Linked DNA regions of Homo sapiens: region 2 is linked to region 1. Evidence: promoter capture Hi-C in human tissues and cell types (Jung and others, 2019). All regions are on one chromosome and are shown on one strand. Each heading gives the region's core, a stretch centred on a gene start or on the middle of the fragment in contact. The rest is flanking DNA. Distances are from core to core; before and after follow the strand shown.

Region 1 (4,741 bases), core at 319-2,818:
GGCGGGTCACCTGAGGTCGGGGGTTCGAGACCAGCCTGACCAACATGGAGGGACCCCCCCCCCCCCACCACCACCACCACGAAAAATACAAAATTAGCCGGGCATGGTGGCGCATGCCTGTAATCCCAGCTACTCGGGAGGCTGAGGCAGGAGAATCGCTTGAACCCGGTAGGCAGAGGTTGCGGTGAGCCGAGATAGTGCCGTTGCACTCCAGCCTGGGCAACAAGAGCGAAACTGCGTCTCAAAAAAAAAAAAAACCTTAGGTAAACAAATCAGAACTTTGGAAGCTGACGAAAGCTTTTTCTTCTCAGGCCCTGTGCCCAAGTAGTTAATTGTATCAGTCTCATTTTCTTCAGAATTAACTGAGCCTTCTCCCATTTCTTCCCCAGAATCCTAGAGACAGCCTGAGTCACTGAGGTCCAGGTGTCCTCATTGCGCAGCAACCCAATTCCCAGAGTCACTTTACAAACATTCCGCAGTCTCTGGAACCCGCATGGCGAACTTGAAGGGTAAGGCTGAAACCTAAGTCCCAGCCTCCACCATGCGTCCCCGACTCCCTGGACCTGAACGCCTACTGCTCAGAGGGCAATCGTTTTAGTGTTTCTATTTGAGCACCCGATAATTCAGAATAAACTCTCAAACATGTTGTGAAAGCCCCCCGGTAGGGCTCTGCACGCTAGGACCAACATTTTGCCACACCCACCATTTCCTGGGCACAGACAGTCTGGGCAGGGAGGGGCATTTGATTCGGAAAAGCTTAGAGTTTGCAGTCTTTGCAAAGCCGGGTCATGCCCACTCAGGCCATGGGGCAAGCACCATTTTCTGTGGGATCAGCAACCAGACAGCGGCTGCAGCCCGGCCGCAGCTGGTCCCGGTGGAAGAACTCATTCGCGCTCCACAGCGAGATCTCCTCCAAGTCCAGCCTCAGCTGATGCTCAAAAGGGGCCGGGCCAGCCAAGCTGTGGGTCCCGGGAGGCGCCCTATGCAGTCCTGGGAAGTCCCTTCGCTCCCCCGCGGCCGTGATCTGGGGAAGGGTGACGGGGCTCCAACCCCAATTAGAGAAACTGGAGCGGCCGTCTGGTTTGCTGAGCGAGCCCCTCCGCCTCCCCTCGCAGCGGGACCTGGTGGGACTGGGGTGACCAGACTGCGGCTCGTCACCGGATGGGGCTTACTCTGGGGCCGCAGAGCGCAGGCGGCGGAGGTGCGACGGCGGCGAAGCCCACGAGGCTCCGCAGAAGGTGGCCCGTGCCGCCCCGGGGACGTGTGTGGGTCTCGTAAGGTGCTGCCAACCTTCCCCGAACGCCAGCGCCCTCGATAATCAAAGGCGACTGCCCCGGGCCCAGATCGCTGCCCGCCGCCCCGCTCCTGGAGGGCAGAGCACAGGCTGTGGGGCTCTCCGCGCGCGCCCCGGCCCGGTCCCGGGGAGCCGAACCCTCTCCGGACCGCGCCCCAAGCAGCGCCCGGGCGCCCTCTCCCCTGCCCGGCCGGAGCCGCGTCCCCCGCGCCCCGCGCAGCTCACCGCTCGTTGGCTGGCTCCGGACGGCTGCTGGCGAGGAGGTGCTGCGGGCGCCGGCGGGGCGGTGGCTCCGAGCCTCAAATACTCCCAGCCCCGCCCGGCCCGCCTCTCCCGAGGCGGGGCGGCGCCCCTGCCCAGCCAGTCCTCTCCCCGGACCAGGCTGGGCGAGCCCCGCGCCGGCCAGACACCCCGAGCCGCCGCCGCAGGGGCGACCAGGAAGCTCCCGACGGGGAGAGCGCGGGCACTGAGGGGCGCGACCTCCGCTGCCACCGTTAGGTTCCGTGGCGCTCCCGGGACCTGGGCTGCGGCCGCGTCTGTCCCCCGCCCTCTCCAGAATCACCTGAGTGAAGAATTCGCTGAGAGGAATTCAATTAATAGGTTGCTTTATTTGTAGAATACAAAACCAAAAATCTTTTCAATGTCTATTCCCTAGGGAACTGACTACAAATTGACTACTTATTCTAGATCAATAGGCCTAGTCTCAAAGCAATTCCCTTATAAAGCAATTAATCAGACAACTCTTTAACACATTTTACACAGGAAATTCACATTATATATATATATACCCTCCTTTTAACTTCACCTTATCTTTTTGTTGGAAGAAAGAGATAAGTATTATTATCTCATTTTTACTGTCAGGGTGCTATAGTCTGAATGTTTATATCCCGCCAAAGTTCATATGTTGAAATCCTAACCCTCACGGTGATGTATTAGGAAGTGGAGGCCTTGGGAAGTGATTAGGTCATAGGGGCAGGGTCCTTATGAATGAGATTGGTGCCCTAATAAAAGAGGCCGGAGAGAGACCCCTTGCCACTTCCACCTTGTGAAGACACAGCCAGAAGGCTCCCTCTGTGAACCAGAAAGCAGGCCCTCACCAGACATCAAATCTGCTGGCCTGGATCTTGGATTTCCCGACCTTCAGAACTGTGGGAAATAAATGTATATTGCCTATAAGCTACCCAGTTTATGATATTTTGTTACAGAAGCCCAAACAGACTAAAAGAGAAAATGATTTACTTATCCAAGCTCACTCATGTCTAGGAACAAAATCCAGAAATCCTGGCTCTTACACTTTACCTGGAAAAGCACCAGGCCAAAGAATCCTTGCAGGTTGGAACAAGGATCTCTGAGGAAAAAAAAAAAAATTAAGGGGGGTAGGGGAAGAATCTTTGCAGGGACTGGCTTATGTAAACTATGGAGAAAACCAGGTATCATCTGGTTCCTAAATAATTCCTGTAGCCCTTATAGTAACCAATTAATAACATAAAGATAAATTATTTCCTGCAGTTTTTCAACTTAGGGAAATGTTCCTGTGAAGGACTCACTTGATGGAATTGAGAAGCTGTCTTGGCATTCTCTAGGATAAACTTGAAAGTGTCTTAGTGGTTGGCACGGTTCCTGCAACATCGTCCCCTCTAGGCTTGCACATAGAAGTCACAGTGTGGCTGGGGATTATTTATGCAAGTTTGAACTCTTATCTGAAGAGGTAGCCTGGCAACCAATTTATTTGAATGGATCACCCATAGTAAATGACTAACCTCTGGGTAGTAAAAAGGTATCACCCAAAGGAATGCCCTTGGTCTCCAGGGAAAATGCTATAAATCTTAAGACTTTGAGTCATGAGGCCTCATGGCCAGGAGTGGTACCCTTAGAGGGTTAGCCATTGGTAATAAGAAAAGTAGATAGCCAAATGAATTGCTGTGGAGGCAAGGGATGAATCACACTCTTGCCTTTTCTTCTGGTCATTTCAGAGATAGACAAAGTTCATGCCCTGGCTACTTAGGGGGCTTGCTTACACCTGATTGTATGATCAGACATGCTTTTGGCTTCCCTTCCTTACTTGTACATCCCCATGAATACTTTGGTGCCAACTTCATGCCCCATAAAGCTAACAAAAGGATCCTGCTATGATCAGGGTGTGCCTGGGAATTTATAATTTGTACACATGCAATAAACGGCTCTTTATTACCCAATCCAAAGTCACATCCCTTTTCTAAGATAAGCGTAAAAAGGAACCCAATAAAATCAATTAAGATATCATTGAGTAACTTCTATGTACAGCTCACTGTGTTATTTGAAATAGGGACAAGGCAAGTGTTAGCCCTCAAACAAAAAGGCTGTCTGGTTTCTACGGATGCAGAGATTGTAAGCCGCTGATAAAAGCAAGGATTCTAAGAGAGGCATCTCCACAGGAGGGAAAGGAGGAAACTTGGGAAAGCAGGTGGCTGTCCAGAAGGTCAGGAGGGAAGCTGCGTGAGAACTTCAGTTAGAGCCAGAAGAGAGTAGGAGATGAAGATGAGAACAAAAAGGGAAAGTCTTTAAGGATAAGCAGAAAAGAGAAAGAAAGACAGTAATTGGAGAAGAAAGCAGAGCCGATTATTTATTTATTTATTTTATTTTTTTGAGACGGAGTTTTGCTCGGCTCACCGCAACCTCCACTCCCAGGTTCAAGTGATTCTCCTCCTGCCTCAGCCTCCCCAGTAGCTGGGATTACAGGCATGCACCACCACCCTGGCCAATTTTTAGTAGAGATGGGGTTTCTCCACGTTGGTCAGGCTAGTCTCAAACTCCCTACCTCAGGTGATCTGCCCACCTCAGCCTCCCAAAGTGCTGGGATTACAGGCGTGAGCCACTGCGCCCGGCAGCAAAGCCAGTTTTTTAAAGTCACCTTTTAAATAGGAAAATAGAACCAGAGAGAAAGGAAAAAGAGAGGAGAATAGAAGAATTATGAAAATATAAAAAGTGAGTGAACCTGGAACAAGCCAGAAAAGAGGAGAGAAATTTCCCAGAAATTAGCACTACAGTGGGCCAGATAGGGAAAGAATGTCTCACAAAAGCTGAAGTTCCTATGAAATATAAACAAAAATCTTGGTATTAAGTCGTGTAGACAGCAGAATACAGGAACAGCCAGAAAAGAGCAAAGCGGCTGCTTTCCAGTTTTCACATTTGGACCCTGGGCAGCCCAGGCAAGTTTGGCAATTCTGTGTCTACATGGTGTTAACACATCTGGGTGACAAGTGAAGAGTTGAGTCAGGCCTCAGGGCACTTGGTCTTTCTGGTGCCAACAACTGGAATCTGGGTGGCTGGCAGACTTAGGGACTGAAAGAGAGGCTGAGTGTTCTGGGGAACCATTTATGCCTTGAAGACAAAGTAATTTCCAGTTTCAGAACGAAATGACTGTGGCTGTCTGCTGTTTCTAGTCCCAGTTATCTATATGTACTTACT
Region 2 (5,085 bases), core at 2,494-4,993, 300 kb before region 1:
GCAGCAAGAAAATATGCTCGTGTGGTGCAGAAGCTTGGGTTCCCTGCCAGATTCCTCGATTTTAAAATTCAGAACATGGTTGGAAGCTGTGATGTGAGATTTCCCATCAGGCTGGAAGGTTTGGTGCTAACCCATCAGCAGTTCAGTAGGTATGACGGTTATATAGCTTGAACTTTGAATTTACCAAGATATTTAAGTTACATTATGGGTTGCTTACGTAAAGTATCTTTCAGAGAAATTGTGATTAAAAAAAAAAAGGCGGGGGACACAATAGTGAAAAGATTAAGATGCTATGCCTGAGTTCTCATAGGTTACCACATGTGCCCAGTCTTTTGAAACCATGGTTCTTAAACTTACATTGCTTAGCAATCACTTAGCTTATTAAAGCACACATCTCTGGCTGGGTTTCTTCACCAGAGATTTTGCTAGAATTTGTGTTTCTAAAAAGCTCAAAGGTGATGACAGTGCTACTGGTCAGAGGCCCACACATTGAGATCCAGTAATCTACAGATTTGTAAGCATACAAACGTAGCTTGGCAATGACACTGGCAAGATAAGGCATGTGTTGGGAGGCCGAGGCAGGCGGATCACGAGGTCAGGAGATCGAGACCATCCTGGCTAACACGGTGAAACCCTGTCTCTACTAAAAATACAAAAAATTAGCCGGGCGTGGCAGCGGGCGCCTGTAGTCCCAGCTACTCGGGAGGCTGAGGCAGAAGAATGGCCAGAACCCAGGAGGTGGAGCTTGCAGTGAGCCGACCTCGCGCCACTGGACTCCAGCCTGGGCGACAGAGCGAGACTCCGTCTCAAAAAAAAAAAAAAAAAAAAAAAAAAAAGATAAGGCATGTGAAATGGACTAGGCCGGTAGGAAGGGGCTTGACAGCTGGTGAGGGGAGAATGGATTGGGGAGAAGATGAAAAAAGAATGCTGTAGCACGTTCTATGAAAGCAATCCTGGGAGGCTGAGGCAGGAGAATGGCGTGAACCCGGGAGACGGAGCTTGCAGTGAGAGATCGCGCCACTGCACTCCAGCCCGGGCCACAGCCAGACTCCGTCTCAAAAAAAAAAAAAAAAAAGCAATCCTAACTAGTTTGTCCCCTATCTGTGTGTGTGTGTGTGTGTGTATATAGCTGCAGCCCGCAACACAATGTTGCCTGTAGTATATTCCTTTTCCTAGGGAATATCTCTAGCCTTCCTGACTTCAGACTTCCCGTCTCAACAGCTAGTGCTCCTCCCCCGCCCCCAGCCGTTTTGGTGGCTCTCCCATCCCAGGCCCTCAGAGAGCAGGGATGGAGGGTGACTCATGGACACCAAACCCCTTGACTCACCAAGATATACACCTGGGCTAGGGCACTTGGCCTGGGTTAATCACAGATGCTCTTAAATTCTCTTGGCCAAGCTGGAACTGAAGTTCTTTCATTCCAACGCCTTATCTTCTCTTGGCCATCGAATGATTATCCCGTCAATAGAGTAGATAGGGATCATATTGCTGTGCTTTCCCTAACATTTGTTAGCTTTCCTTTCAGATATGATCTGAATGGAAGTTAAAAATTCCTTTTTCTTCTAAAATATTTTCATTCATTCTGAGATTCAGCTTTTATGATATGCTTATTTTTCTTTTGACATGTTTATTTTTCTCTTGATTATGTTTTCTTTTTTCTTCAGTTTTTTCACTGTATGCTATTGAATGCCTAAATATACCCCATTTTTTAAAAATCTGAGCTCCCTATAAAGTCCTCCCATTCCCCCATGTAAGACATGTTGCCTCTTTAGGTATCTTTCTTCCTTCAATCTTGGCATAATTTGCAGATTTCCTAATAAAGCCTGTTTCTAAGAGTCTCCCAGTGCTTAAGTTGTCTTATCTTCCAGACTCTCAAGTCACGAGCCTCCAGCCTATCTTTCTCTGAATCGGCTTAGTGTACATCTGCAAGAGCTCTGCCCGAACTCTAAGGTTGTGTCTACATTAGACTTAGCATTCCCTTCTGGCCATTCAGGGCTCGAAAATGATGTGTGTGGTTCTTCCCAAGTGTCCATTCATTTCTTTTTCACCAGCATCTTCCTTGCAGAGCAGATCTAAGTCTAGAATAGGTGCCCCTTGTTATTACTACCAGCTTCTGGAAGGGTTGCCAGTAAGGCGCAGTGAGAATACATCAGACGGAGTGGGCCCATCCCTGTTCTATCTTCCTCCTGGGACAGTTTTATGATCTCAGTCATCTTTTCTTTTCTTTTCTTTTTTTTTTTTTAATCTGGCCAGGAAGCTTGCTTTGTATTCCCACAACTTTCTATTTCTAGTCTCATTCTTGCCTCCCCCTCATCCTCTCCATTCGGCTGTCAGCCTCAGGTTATGGATTACAACTCCAGAGTGTGTATTCTTGACACTGGGAACATTAAAAACACCTCTTAGAAGATTTGAATTTTTAACATGAGGCCTCTCTAATTGTCTGTAGCTCTGTGGGGAACCATGCTACATAATCAGTTATAATTATCAGGCCAAATTTGCCTTGTGTTAAACCCCTAAGGTCATTCAGTTTCCCAGGTTCTGCAAATTTGTATGTCAACATTTAATAATACAAGTATCTCCTTTTGTTACCAGGCACTTTCTCTGGTAATCTTTCTATGACATAATCATTTCCACAGTTGTCAATGAGAATTTTTCCCTCTTTATTTTATTTATTTATTTTTTTTTTTTGAGATGGAGTTTTGCTCTTTTGCCCAGGCTGGAGTGAAGTGGCATGATTTCAGCTCACTGCAACCTCCACCCCCCAGGGTTCAAGTGATTCTCCTGCCTCAGCCTCCTGAGTAGCTGGTATTATAGGCACCCACCACCACACCCGGCTAATTTTTGTATTTTTAGTAGAGACGAGGTTTTACCATATTGGCCAGGCTGGTCTTGAACTCCTGACCTCAGGCGATCCACCCACCTCGACTTCCCAAGTACTAGGATTACAGGTGTGAGCCACCGCACCCGGCCCCCTCTTTAATTTTTAATTCAAAGGTATCCTGATATAAATACTTGCTATATGAATAAGATCTAGGTGACTACCATGTAGCAGATGCTAGGATGATAATGGCAAGCAATATAGCTATAGTCCCTTGCCCACATAGAGATCACTGTCTAAAAGAAAAGATGGACAAGTCAATGACAGTAATGAAACATGGTGACTGTGAAGGTAAGGCCCTTCAGGGGCTATGAGACCATAAAGCAGGGTCTTTAATGTAATTGGGGGTGGGTAGAGATCAAGGAAGATTTTCTTGGGGAAGTAACATTTAAAATGAGACTTGAAGGATGGGTCAAAGTTGGGTTGGCCAAGAAATTGGCAGGTGTTCGATATTCTCAATCTTTGTGAAATGTTCTCCATCCCTAACCAAAACCACTCTCTTTCTCTGCCTCAGCCTTCTTTTGGAATGAGGCAGAGAATAAATAAAATGAAGTATATTCCTAATTGGGAGCACATTATACTGGTAATCTTAAAACCATGGTTCTAAAAGCTAAATGCAGTTCAATATCATTTACATACCAAAGTTTTTGTTTTCTCTTTTCTAAGTCTTAAAATTTAGCTGGAAGATCAAATGGAAATCTTCTTTTTGTGTCTCCAGCCTTCATTTTCTTGGCCTGGATCTCATAGCCCTGGAGGGTTTTTCAGGGCTCCCCCTAGTGTCATGGTCTCCCCAGTGTTGGGAAGTGGTTAGTGGGAGAAAGTCTTGACAGGCTCCCTGCAGTAAGACAGAGTGATGTTCCAGAAGACAGTTCCACCCACAATGACCTCCTATACTTGAGATGGGCAAGACTCACTTCAAGATGCGCCTTTCTGGAGCCAGTAAAAGGTTCCACATCTGCTGTTGTTTTTGGGTCTTGTTCATTGCTGAACTGAATGGAGCTTTTCCATGCAGTCTGGATTCACCCTTTAAGTGCAAAGATGCTAGTGTTCCATTGCTTGGATGTCTTTTTTTCTTATATTTCTTGTCCATTAGCCACTGCTTTGAGAATAGTTTTATTCACCTCCTCTCACTTCCTGACTTCTTTTTGGTAGGTTCCTCAAGCCTTTCTAAGAATCTGCCCTCCTCTCCAGGCTGGAGTGTGGAGAAGAAGCTCTTAAGTGCTATCATCTTTCGCTCCATGGAGTGGCCAGCTTATATTTAGTAGTAAATATGAGTTACTATTTATAGCAACAAATCCTGAATTGTAAAAACTCGGGATAATTGGATTTTCTTTATTTATATAGCACCTGTTCAAATACAAATAGCAGTGGCCTAGAAATATTTTTAGGTTCTATCTGCTAAAAATGTTAACTTCAGCAGTTCGTAAAAGCATACAAAATATGTTTATTATTGGAGAATTTGGAAACCCAGAAAAACATGATTATGTATTCTTATTAACAGACTTTTTTGAAAAGATAGAGGATGTTTAACCAACAAGCTCTCAATACACTAAATCAGATGCCCTAAGTTACCTTGATTTCTAATAACCATCCAGGATAGCTTGCACTTGTGTTATGACCCAAAATTAATTATGTTCCTAACTTCCATAAGATATTACCTAGGACACTCAAGACTCTTCATCAAGATAGTTAAAAAGTTTTTGATAAAATAGCTAACTTATTTACAACTGCTTTAATATGCACTTTAATATACTGGGCCTTACATGTTATGGGAAAGGAGCTGAATAGTGCTATTTTTAACATTTTCCTTTTACATCTTAACAGTTACGAGCCTGAACTGTTTCCTGGTCTTATTTATAGAATGGTAAAACCACGAATTGTGTTGCTTATCTTTGTATCTGGAAAAGTTGTGTTGACAGGTAAGTGCTAAGATTATTTTCTGACTCATAAAATGTAATTGCTATGCATGTGCTTTGCTTATTCTTTTAAATACCTTTGTTCACCATGGTAAAGTAATTCTTGTTATACAGAATACCTGGAATGAAAAATAAGAAAGGAATAACATCACCCATAGGTCCCAGTACCTAAAACAACATTTTTTTCATGTTTTTATGTCATTTTATTAAGTATTTCATCTTTACATCCTGATTTTTTTACAGAATTATCCATGATAACATATATGGCTTAAACTTACTGTTACAAACTCT

Evidence for each region. Contacts are between HindIII fragments. The study calls those that stand out against the background at their distance.
Region 2: a fragment that was not itself captured here is called in contact with the fragment with the promoter of LGALS3 in region 1 in 2 of the 25 tissues and cell types used here (IMR-90 fibroblasts and aorta).

The regions. Positions count from the first base shown.
Region 1 is chr14:55,126,079-55,130,819 of GRCh38, reverse strand. LGALS3 (galectin 3) reads right to left here and starts at 1,568. Exons shown (of 6, transcript NM_002306.4): 1 at 1,520-1,568. RefSeq lists an enhancer at 733-922 and a silencer at 1,273-1,872. The HindIII fragment of the contact is 8,667 bases long and covers 528-4,741 here.
Region 2 is chr14:55,423,871-55,428,955 of GRCh38, reverse strand. TBPL2 (TATA-box binding protein like 2) reads left to right here. Exons shown (of 7, transcript NM_199047.3): 5 at 1-149; 6 at 4,703-4,797. It also overlaps a transcript of FBXO34 not described here. Among named protein-coding and RNA genes, the nearest start is that of TBPL2, 14 kb to the left of the region's middle. The HindIII fragment of the contact is 5,195 bases long and covers 1,146-5,085 here.